3 separate regions of the Homo sapiens genome follow, and all the other regions are linked to region 1. Evidence: promoter capture Hi-C in 16 types of primary human blood cells and fetal thymus (Javierre and others, 2016). All regions are on one chromosome and are shown on one strand. The core of a region is centred on a gene start or on the middle of the fragment in contact, and the rest is flanking DNA. Distances in the headings are between cores, read along the strand shown. Region 1 holds the start of C12orf56 (chromosome 12 open reading frame 56). Region 2 holds the start of ATP23 (ATP23 metallopeptidase and ATP synthase assembly factor homolog). Region 3 overlaps RAB3IP (RAB3A interacting protein).

Evidence for each region. The method cuts DNA at HindIII sites, captures the fragments that hold promoters and counts their contacts. A CHiCAGO score of 5 or more calls a contact.
Region 2: a contact is called between the fragment with the promoter of ATP23 here and the fragment with the promoter of C12orf56 in region 1, in 1 of 17 cell types (naive CD8 T cells). The highest score is 5.2, in naive CD8 T cells.
Region 3: a contact is called between a fragment that was not itself captured here and the fragment with the promoter of C12orf56 in region 1, in 1 of 17 cell types (naive CD8 T cells). The highest score is 5.8, in naive CD8 T cells.

What each region holds. Positions count from the first base shown.
Region 1 is chr12:64,389,028-64,392,685 of GRCh38, reverse strand. It overlaps C12orf56 (chromosome 12 open reading frame 56), which reads left to right and starts at 1,928. Exons shown (of 13, transcript NM_001170633.2): 1 at 1,928-2,372. The coding sequence starts at 2,121. The HindIII fragment of the contact is 6,871 bases long and covers 1-3,658 here.
Region 2 is chr12:57,939,537-57,943,194 of GRCh38, reverse strand. ATP23 (ATP23 metallopeptidase and ATP synthase assembly factor homolog) reads right to left here and starts at 1,628. Exons shown (of 6, transcript NM_033276.4): 1 at 1,307-1,628. The coding sequence starts at 1,493. RefSeq lists enhancers at 324-493, 950-1,759. The HindIII fragment of the contact is 6,393 bases long and covers 1-3,658 here.
Region 3 is chr12:69,741,678-69,745,335 of GRCh38, reverse strand. The region is part of intron 1 of RAB3IP (RAB3A interacting protein); the gene reads right to left. Among named protein-coding and RNA genes, the nearest start is that of RAB3IP, 4.6 kb to the right of the region's middle. The HindIII fragment of the contact is 1,122 bases long and covers 1,388-2,509 here.

The sequences.
Region 1 (3,658 bases), core at 679-3,178:
ATTCAGCAGAGGTGAAGCGCCTTTGCCTTTCTGTTAGTTTGAAGCAACAAACTCTATTTAGAGTGGTTTAGATAATGAGTAGTCTTTATTTTGGAGGAAATAGCCATGCGGCATCTTTTATCAATAAAGGTTGCTACGGATGGTGTAGTTCATTCATTTTTCATCCATTTATGAAGTTAGGAAGGCTCAGATGTGTGATGAGATCCTAAGAAAACTTTAACTACTAGGTCATTTAAGATTTTGCCAGCAGGTGGCACTTCTCTTTACTCACTTGAGTTCCTTAACATGATCTTAGACTTAAGTCTAGCCAGACCCTTACATGGCGGTGGTTCATGCCTGTATTCCCAGCACTTTGGGAGGTCAAGGCAGGCAGATCAGTTGAAGTCAGGAGACAAGCCATGGCCAAGATGGTGAAATCCTGTCTCTACTAAAAATACACACAGAAAAAAAATTAGCCAGGCATGGTGGTGTACACCTGTAGTCCAAGCTACTTGGGAGGCTGTGGCAGGAGAATGGCTTGAACCCAGGAGGCAGAGGCTGCAGTGAGCCGATATCATGCCACTGCACTCCAGCCTGGGTGACAGAGGGAGACTCTGTCTCAAAAAAAAAAAAAAAAAAAAAGTTTAGCCAGACCAAAACATTTCTCTTTCCCTTTGTACTAGTGTAGTCTACAATATCTGTTTATGGATTGTAATATATTTATACCTTCTTTCCACAAGGGATTTGAAGTTGCTTATAACATACAGTATACAATAATAAAATATGTAGAAAGGGAGAATATAAAGAATATATCAAATTTGATTCAGGGTTGCTGGCAGCCACAGCAATGAACGATATGGTTTCATTATCAGGTTTTTGGGTCAATGGGGAGGGGAAGAGAATAACTTTTCTAGGATTCGAAATAAAAAATGGAACTTCTGACTTAGAGCATTTCTGTTGTGCCCTTCTCATTTCTCTAACCTAATTAGTAAGTTATTCTTGGCCTGTAAAAACTAAGGAATACTTACTCCTCTGCAGCCTCAGGGTATGTAATCCGCATTCTTCAGTCTATCAGCTTCAACTTTTCAAGATGCCAGCATCACCCATTCATTCTTCCTGCATAGATTGTCCTGGGCATTGGAAACAAAACCATATGCCTTAGGTTGGTTTGGGTGTGCTCACATCAATTCATGTGAAGAATCCCTTTCTCAAAGGCTGGGCGAGGTGACTTAACGCCTGTAATCCCAGCACTTTGGGAGGCCGAGGCGGGCGGATTACCTGAGGTCGGGAGTTGGAGATCAGCTTGACCAACATGGAGAAACCCCGTTTTTACTAAAATATACAAAATTAGCTGGGCGTGGTGGCGCATGCCTGTAATTCCAGCTACTCAGGAGGCTGAGGTAGGAGAATCGCTTGAACCCGGGAGGGGGAGGTTGCGGTGAGCCGAGATGGCGCCATTGCACTCCAGCCTGGGCAACAAGAGCAAAGCTGCGTCTCAAAAAAAAAAAGAGAAAAGAAAAAAAAAATCCCTTTCTCACTGGTTGGAGAAAGAAGACCTATGTTTACACTCCGACAATATCAGAAAGCTGTGCCAGGCCATGTTATAACCAAAAGCTAAATCTGTGTGATTGGGTTTAATAGGTTTCTAGGGTTGTTAAAAATAAATCGGTAAATTAAACTCTTTCAAGTTTCTAACAGGAAACCAGATTGAAGCTGGCTTCCATTACCAATAAAGTTTGTATTGGATGGTGTGATCCGCAACAGAGTACGCAGTGGTGGGGACTGGCATTAGGGGTGGGCGGGAGAGACCCTAAAAATCCACCGCCCTTCGGCCGCAGGGGACTTCACGGTGATGAGCCCGAGGTGCCCATCAACTCGGGCCTGAAGGACCAGCGTCTTGCCCCGCCCATCGCCGTCTGAGGTTAGGACAAAGATCGAGAGGCTGGACAGGGCTGGGGAGGGCGCTCCAGGGAAGCCGACCTAGCGTCGATTCCTGCAGTTGCGGCCCGGGTCCCCGCGCCTGGAGAGGAGGCGACGCGTGGCCGGCGGCTTTGTGGCGCGCGGGTTCCAGCGCGGGGGCGGGGAGAGGGCGAGCTGAGGGCCTCGAGTCCCAGCACTCCGCCACGCTGCGGGCGCCGGGCATGGCCAGCCCCTTGCCGTCCGGCTTCCCCGCGCGCAGGAACAGCCGCCTGGATGTGTTCCTGCGGCGGCATCTGCCGCCCGAGGTCTACGACGCGGTCCGCGCCTACGAGCCATGCATCGTGGTGTCCAACTCTGAGAACCACATCCTCAAGTATGTGGTGCTAAGCGACCGGCTCGTCTACCTAACCGAGAACCCGCCCAAGTCCATCCGGCGGGTAGTGGCTCTGCGGGACGTCGTGGCCATTGACCTGGTGAGCGGCGCGGGTGGGCAGGCGGGCTCGGGAGCGCAGTGAGAACTCCCGGCTGGGGCCCCCAAACCCAGCCCTCCTGCGCGGGGAGGGCTGCCCCATCCTGCCCTCGACTCCCCTCCTCTTATTTGAGAACGAGGAACACAGGGAAGCTGTGGATTGCTGTGAGCACTCCTAATACAAACACGTCTCCCATTCTCCTCGTGTCTGCCTGTTCACCCATTCTCCCGCCTCCCCTACCCCACGTAGGGCTACAGGTTTGAGAACCGAGCTCCCTATCAAAAATACCTTTTAAAGTCATTCCTTTGTTAACAAAGCACCTAGTCAGTGCCAGGCACTGTGCTAGACTCGGAGGATGCAAAAACGAAAGAGGGCCCCTACCTAGAAGCAGTCGCTGGAGGGCTAGAAAGCCAACACCCGTGCAAATAAATGCTGTGTGTTAAGTGCTGTTATATCTCATTTACTTTTTTGCCCCCGATGCTTAGAGCATGTTAGATGCTCAATAAGAATAAATGCATAAGGCCGGGTGCCGTGGATCACGCCTATAATCCTTACACTTTGGGAGGCCAAGGTGGATAGATCACCGGGGGTCAGGGGTTCGAGACCAGGCTGGCCAACATGGTGAAACGCCGTCTCCACCAAAAGTACAAAAATTACCCAGGCGTGGTCGTGTGCACCTGTAATCCCAACTACTTGGGAGGCTGAGGCACAAGAATCGCTTGAACCTGGGAGGCGGAGGTTGCCGTGAGCCGAGATCGCCCCACCTGCACTCCAGCCTGAGCTACAGAATGAGTGAGACACCGTTCCCCTCCACCCCCTCCCCAGCAAAAGAATAAATGCATGAATAAGCAGATGCGTTAATGAGATGCGCACAGGACGCTTGGCAATCTCAGGCGGCTCACTTGATCCAAACTGGGCGCAGGGCCTGCTGGGAAACGTCTTGGAAGGAGGGGCGTCGACGCTAGGAGCTGGGCTTGAAAGACGTCGGGCCTGCCACAGCCTGTCGCCGGTTTTCGGGTGCTGTTCCTGTACCCCTTTCGTCCAGGAATAGATTTACCTTGTAAACCAGCAACAGACTGGAAGCACGGTCTCCTCTCCAATTACTGTTTTCCCCGCCTGGCTCCCTTTGTCTGAGCTGCTCTCCAGGTGTGTTCTTGGTTTTTCCGTTGGGGACAGGTGTCTAGCCTCGTTTTTTCATTCCCTTGACTGAGCCCCAAGGGAGAGGTTGGCGAGACGCTTGATGGAGCTGTTTTGCTGAGGAGTCATGGCTTGTTTTGAACGAGTCTGTA
Region 2 (3,658 bases), core at 379-2,878, 6.4 Mb after region 1:
ACTCATCTTTCTACTTCCCCCACCAGAACCTGGGAGGCACTCAATACATATTTGTACAGTAAATACAATATCATCATTCTCTCCCCTTTTACCCTCAACTCCCCTTCCTCCTCCTACCTCCCTGAGTCTCTACAAGCAGGTAATCCCAAGAAGGTTGGAAAATCTTTCGGTGGTTGACTTTTGAACTGTGACTGACTAGCTATGAAATAGTAACCTTGCTTTGGGACAAGTATGTTTAAGACTAATTTTCTGAATGTATCTGAAAGTAAACTTAAGAAGTCTATGTCAATGTAAAGGAATTAAGAAATCTTCTCTAGTGCAATGTCTCTGGGACGGGAGAGAAATTTGTCAATGGGCAGTTGTGTCCCTGTTTAACCCACAGCAGTTCTTAACCTTTGTGGGGTCGTTGGCCTCTTTGAGAATATGATGAAGCTATTAACTCTCTCCCCCGACCAAAAAAAAATACACTTTGGGCCGGGCGCAGTGACTCACGCCTGTAATCCCAGCACTTTGGGAGGCCGAGGCAGGCAGATCACGAGGTCAGGAGATCAAGACCATCCTGGCTAACACGGTGAAAACCCGTCTCTACTAAAAATACAAAAAATTAGCAGGGTGTGGTGGCGAGCGCCTGTAGTCCCAGCTACTCGGGAGGCTGAGGCAGGAGAACGGCGTGAACCCAGTAGGCGGAGCTTGCAGTGAGCAAAGATCGCGCCACTGCACCCCAGCCTGGGCGACAGAGCGAGACTCCGTCTCAAAAAAAAAAAAAAAATGCACTTAGGGGCACACACACACACATACACACGATTTCACAGACCATTTCAGGGATTTCTACGCTCTGAAGCCCATTCATGCATGAACCACTTCCAAGGAACGGTAGGTTTGCAAAACTGCTTTTATATTTTTACAGCCTTGGTATGCCTTAATTACATTTTTACATTTTTACAGCCTTTGTGTGCCTTAATTAACCTGGCTGGCACTTTAAAACTTGGCCTCACCCTTACCCTGAAGTCACAGTGTGGCTGCATAACTTATGTAAGAAATCGGAGGATCTGTCACAACAGTGAGTGACAAAAAAGGGCAGACAAATTCATTCCACAAGCCAAAAACAGCGACGAAAAGGGTCTCAGCGCCACCTCTAGTGGGGAAACTGAGCCTCAGGCTCCCAACCCAGCCCCCATGATGCCCAGTCTGTCTAGACTCTGTGCTGAACCTGAAGCCCCTGGCCAGGTGTTGCCCAGGCCCTTCCTCGCCCACCCGGTCTCAGACCCATTCTGTGGAACCACAGCCTCCAGGTCATGGCTCCTACTTGTCTCCAGCGTCTTCAGGAGCCTAAGCTGGCACTTCTGGTTGCTGGTGAAGAAGCTGGAGAAGAACCCTTGCTGGGGATTCCCCTGGGCCAGACGCTCGGGGAAGACCTGGCAAGAGACGTGTTGCTGCTGCAGCTGCTCCCCTGCCGCGGGGCCCCGCCGGCGCTCGTCCGGAGCTCCCGCCATGCCTCCCGCAGACCTCGCCGCTGCTTCCTCCTGGCTCAGGCGGCCAGAGCGAGACTGGGAAAGGTAACCTCCCTCCCGCCAACGCGACCGCCCAGGCCCTCCCTCCGCAGGGAAGAAGGGCAGCCTGGCTGGGCTGAAGACGTTAGGCGGGAGGGGGCTTTGAACCTGACGGGGAGCGCGGGAGGCGGGGCGAGAGGCGAGGGGCGGGGCGAGAGGCGAGGGGCGGGGCGAGGGATGAGGGGCGGGGCGAGGGCATGGGGCGGGGCGCGGGGCCCGATGCTGTTGGGCGGAGCTGGGTCTTGCGACTTCCCTCAAAGGCTGTAACAACCCGGCTGCCGCGGATTTCGCTGCTGCCCTCCCAGTGTGGGTGACATGTCTTTATAAGCGTTGTTCTGCAGCTTCCTGCTGCCTGCTGAGCTCTAAGGGTGTCCCGCCTCCTCGCAGACACTCCTTCCTCACCTCGGGGCGAATATTGGCCACTAACTGCTCTTGTGCCGCCGAAGGTCTCGGCCATCCTCCCACTCCCTGCCTTCTTCCGGGGCAAGCCAGTTGTCATTTCTGGCCCGCCACTTTCCCGACCCCTGCCATCCCTCAGATCCACTCTGCCCAAAGATGCCTCTGGCCATATTGAAAGCAGTGTTTTTCAGAAACGTTTTAAAACTATAAAGAATGACTAGTCACATCAAAATCCTCAAAATGTAGGAACCAACTACATTTTTTCTTCCCACCTGTACCCATTCGTTTACCCTACTCTTCTGCCCCACCCCCCACCAATAACTCCCTGATAACAAAGCGCACCCTGTTTACTTCTACCTCTCAGCCTTAACTCATACTGTCATTTCCATCTTTAAGCTCCTTGCCTCAGCCCCTATGATTGGGGCCCAGGTCAAATCTGCCTACTCCACAGGGCATTCCCAGATACCTTAATCAAAATTAATGTCTCCTGATCTCCCAATGTACAAAGCACTTTGTACCTGTTAATCATTTTCATCGTAGCCTGCCAGGTTTTATCCAATTTGTGTGTTTCTCTTTTCCTACTAAATTATTCCACTCAGCTCACACATTTATTCAGCACCTACTATGATGGGCCAGGCAAGGTGTAAGAGACTGAGGAAACACATGACTAAGAAAATTGCTAAAGATGAAGAGCAGCATGTGGTTTATGTAAGAAACATATCTGAAAAATATAGGCTCAGCAGGCCTTTAGGGTTATGAACAGTGCTTTATGTGTCATAGATGCTCAATATCTAAATTGAGTGGGATGCTAGGATAGTCATTCATCTGGAATATTATAAAAATACAAACAACTCCTATGTACATAGACTATTAAAGCCAGAAGTCAAAAAAAAAGTAACTACTTTTTAATTAAATTCACCTTGGATACATTATTTCCAATCCTCACTACAACCCTGCAAAGTAAGTATTATCTCTAATTTGCAGATAAAGTGGGCTCAGCAAAATTCAATAATTTATCTAGGACCACACAACTAGCTTTCAATCCAGTTATTGAACTAAAACACACATATGGAAAACTAAGCCATTACAATTCAGTGTGATTAGTTTGGAATACTGAAGGCAGGCTAGATATGCCTAGAAATGGACCATAGCCTATATACATTTGAAATACTATTTGGATTTTTTTCATGCTTTCTTTTTTAATACATAGATTCAGGTGGTTTATGTGTAGGTTTATTATACAGATATATTGTGTAGTGGTGAGGTCTGGGCTTCTAGTGTACCCATCACCCAAACAGTGAACATTGTACCCAATAGTTAATTTTTCAACCCTCACCCTTCCCCTCCCACTCTCCCCACTTTTGGAGTCCCCAGTGTCTATTATTCCCCTCTGTATGTCCACGTGCACTCAGTCTTTAGCTTCCACTTATAAGTGAGAACATGGGGTGTTTGATTTTCTGCTTCTGAGTTATTTCACTTAGGATAATGGCCCCCAGCTCCATCCATGTTGCTGCAAAAGACATGATTTCATTATTTTTATGGCTGCATAGTATTCCGTGGTGTATGCATAACCACATTTTCTTTAACCATCTGTTGGTGGACACTTAGGTTAATGGTTGATTCTATGTCTTTGTCTTTTTGTCATAACAATTTCTTCTTTTTTTTTTCTTTTTCAGAGACAGGTTCTTGCTCTGTCACCCAGGCTGGAG
Region 3 (3,658 bases), core at 699-3,198, 5.4 Mb before region 1:
AATTAGTGTTAATTTTTGAAAATTTGTAATAATAAAAGCAGGAAATGTAGATTAAAATGAAAAAATAAATAAAGAACAAAGTTTGTAAAAGTACTGCAGTTAACTGCTCTTATCTTTGGGAAATACTGAAATACCTACAGGTGAAATTACACAGGACTTGCAATTTGTTTCAAAATAATATAGAAGTGGGAGAAGTGGATGGATGAGGACTGATCACTGTTGATAGTTACTGGGCTACATGATGGAAACTTTTAGGTTCATTATACTATTGTGTCTACTTACCTTATTTGAAACTCTCCATAATTTATAGTGCTCTCAAAATAAAAAGGAAAGTTCAAAATTTATTCAAATACTGTATAATAAAGGAGGAAAAAACAAAACAAGTATATATATAAAATCATTTTTTCATTAGCTTTCATAATAATTTTAAAGTTGGCTTCCCAAACTAGCATTTTAGTTATGACAAAAAAAATCACATTTATCTTTTAAGAAGCATTCTATGTTTATAAATGCAAATGTAATTAATAGCCCAAGGGCAAAATTACTCAAATGGTCAATCAGGCTACACAATTTTCCCATTTTTATTATAATAGATCACAAATGAATTCCCACTAATTCCACAATACTTTTTTTTTTTTTTTTTTGAGATGCAGTCTCGCTCTGTCGCCCAGGCTGGAGTGCAGTGGCACAATCTCGGCTCACTGCAACATCTGTCTCCTGAATAGCTGGGATTACAGGCGCCTGCCACCACACCCAGCTAATTTTTTGTATTTTTAGTAGAGATGGGGTTTTGCCATGTTGACCAGGCTTGTCTCGAACTCCTGACCTCAAGTAACTGTCTGCCTCAACCTCCCAAGTGCTGGGACTACAGGTGTGAGCCACCATGCCCGGCCTAATTCCACAACACTTCAATGTACAACCTGACATGTGTAGAGATGTTAGTTATTGCAGTGTGTTATGTTGACAGTTTTCAGAAAATGTTCTGAACTTATGAGCTAATATTATATTTAATTACAAATAATTATTTGTAATAATACAATGAGCTAATATTTAATTACAAATATTTATTTGTAATTAAATATTTATTTAAATTAACAGAACACCGCATGTTCTCACTCATAAGTGGGAGATGAACAATGAGAACACACGGACACAGGGAGGGGAATATCACACACCAGGGCCTGTGGGGGAGTGGCGGGCTAGGGGAGGGATAGCATTAGGAGAAATACCTAAGGTAGATGATGGGTTGACCGGTGCAGCAAACCACCATGGCACGTGTATACCTATGTAACAAACCTGCACATTCTGCACATGTATCCCAGAACTTAAAAGTATAATTTTTTAAAAAAATCATTTTCCAAATTTCTTTTTCTCAATAATGGAAGCTTCATTTTACATATTCTCTTAAGAATATATGCCAACTAAACATTCAACAGGTGCTGAAATACGCACTGACTAAATAAATAAACAAGAGTCTTTAGAGAAGGAATGAATAGCAAAGCGGTAAAGAGTGGAGACAGTTATTCAGGCTACATTTTTGCTGAAAAAGATAGAAATGAAACAGTAAATACTTTGCGAGAGTATCAAAACTGGAGAAATTGAAGTTTGAGAAAACCTGAGCATTTTAACAGACTAACTTCAGAAAACCTTCCTTCTAGTTCAGATTCTGTCACTGACAAGCTGTGTGAACTGACGCAAGTCATTTAATCTCTCTAAGGTTCAGTTTTGACATCTATAATGGTAGTGATATTATCTCCCCTGCCTACATTTGAGAAAATCAAATGGCATATCAATGTAAAAATGTATACATTGTAAAGCACAACATAAATGTATGATTTTATAAAGATCTAAGAAAGAAAAAAATGTAATGGGGGAAATAGCAAAAGCATACTGAGGGGTTTGTCTTACAAATCAGAAGGTATCTTTATTTATCTTAGGTAAAAGGAAAGAAAGGGAAAACTAGTCTTTATGAGGCATGTAGTTCAAATATGATTCTTTTCCCCACAGGGAATTGATACAAATTTGCTTATTGTTTTTTCAAACTTATTTTGGTTTTTCTTTTATACTTTATCCTTATCTGACAACCAGATGCTCCCAAACAAATATTCAATACTATTACTTTTATCTGGGCATATCAAATTACAATTCACTTATTTAAGTGGTTCTAAGCTATCATCTATATGCTCCTTTATGCTCATAGGGCATTCTCACATTCTTGAATAGTTTCTTCATACTAAGCTGTCAATTCATATACTTATTTGTGTATGTATCCATACCCCTCAGAGGAATTTCATCAACTGCCATTATGATTATATTTACAATCCTACTGTTAACGACAAGCATCAAATCTTTCATGAACTTGAACTATTTGAATAATTTTCATTCTTTTTCCTCTAAGTAATATCAGTTTACGGCTATAGTTATCTAATTTCGTGTTGCCCTATATTCTAAGATAAATCAGATTACTTTTTCCACTTTTCTCTAACCATGACTATGTACGATGTAAGCTTATAAAACTACCTCATTTAGTGGTAAGTTGAAAAGGAAAGCAGAAGGGAAAATAGAGATAGCAAGTTAATGCTCCCAGTTGTATAAATATCTTCCTCTTCCTTCCTTTGTCCCTTCATTTCTCAATGTTCATTTCAATTTCTACTGCTAGAGCAGCTTCAAAACATCCTAACATTCTTCAACTGATCATCCATCACCAAACACAGCACAGTACTTACCTGGCCCGATGTTAAAGCTATAAAATGAGGTAAGCCCTACTCTCGAAGCACTTGTAGACTAGAGGAAGAGACCACCTTGCCAATAAACATGTTTCTAGGGCCCTAGAAACAATTACAAATACAACACAAATATCAAAGTTCATAAATACCAAAAAAGAGGTACTCAGTATTATAAAAGCATAAAATTTTTAAAAAGAGTACCATCTGGTACAACTAAGGATAGTAGCATAAAAAAGGAGAAACAAGCTAGAAAGCAGTTTACAAAAGCTCAGATATTTTGTTTTTAGGATATCAAATGCGTAGTAACCAATTTACTATCCTTTGATGAACTGCATCTTAATCAGAATTATATCGGAAAAAAGTTTAGTGTGAAAAAGCGTACTCCCTTGGAATATCTTCAAAGCTTTCCCTCATTACCTCAATGCACAAATATCTCTACCCACTATCCATCTGTCCTTCCTCTCCACTACTCAACTATCCTAGCACTTTGTCTTAGTTGACATTCATTAAAATATGTAAAGTGCGTTCTACATTTTGAAGAACTTATAAAAGATATGGGAATGATTATAAGGCCCTACCTTCCATATTCCTTAAGAACAGTTTCCTTTAACCCCTACTGTGACTTGCAGAGTAGATGCTCAATGAGTATTTGATTTAAAAAAATCTCTGGTGACACAATGAGAATTACATATTACATTAACATTACGTATCTCATAAAAGCTAAATTACAAAGTTCTTCAGCATTATAAGCTACACATAAAGAAGTGATAATGTAGTGATTATGAGCAAACAATTCTTTAGCATTACCACTTATACATGAAGAAATGACAGAGTGTAGTGGTTAAGAGCACAGACATGGAAGACAAACTGTCTGACATCTAATCTAGACCTGTCACTTAATTAACTATGTGACGTTGAGCAAACTACATAAG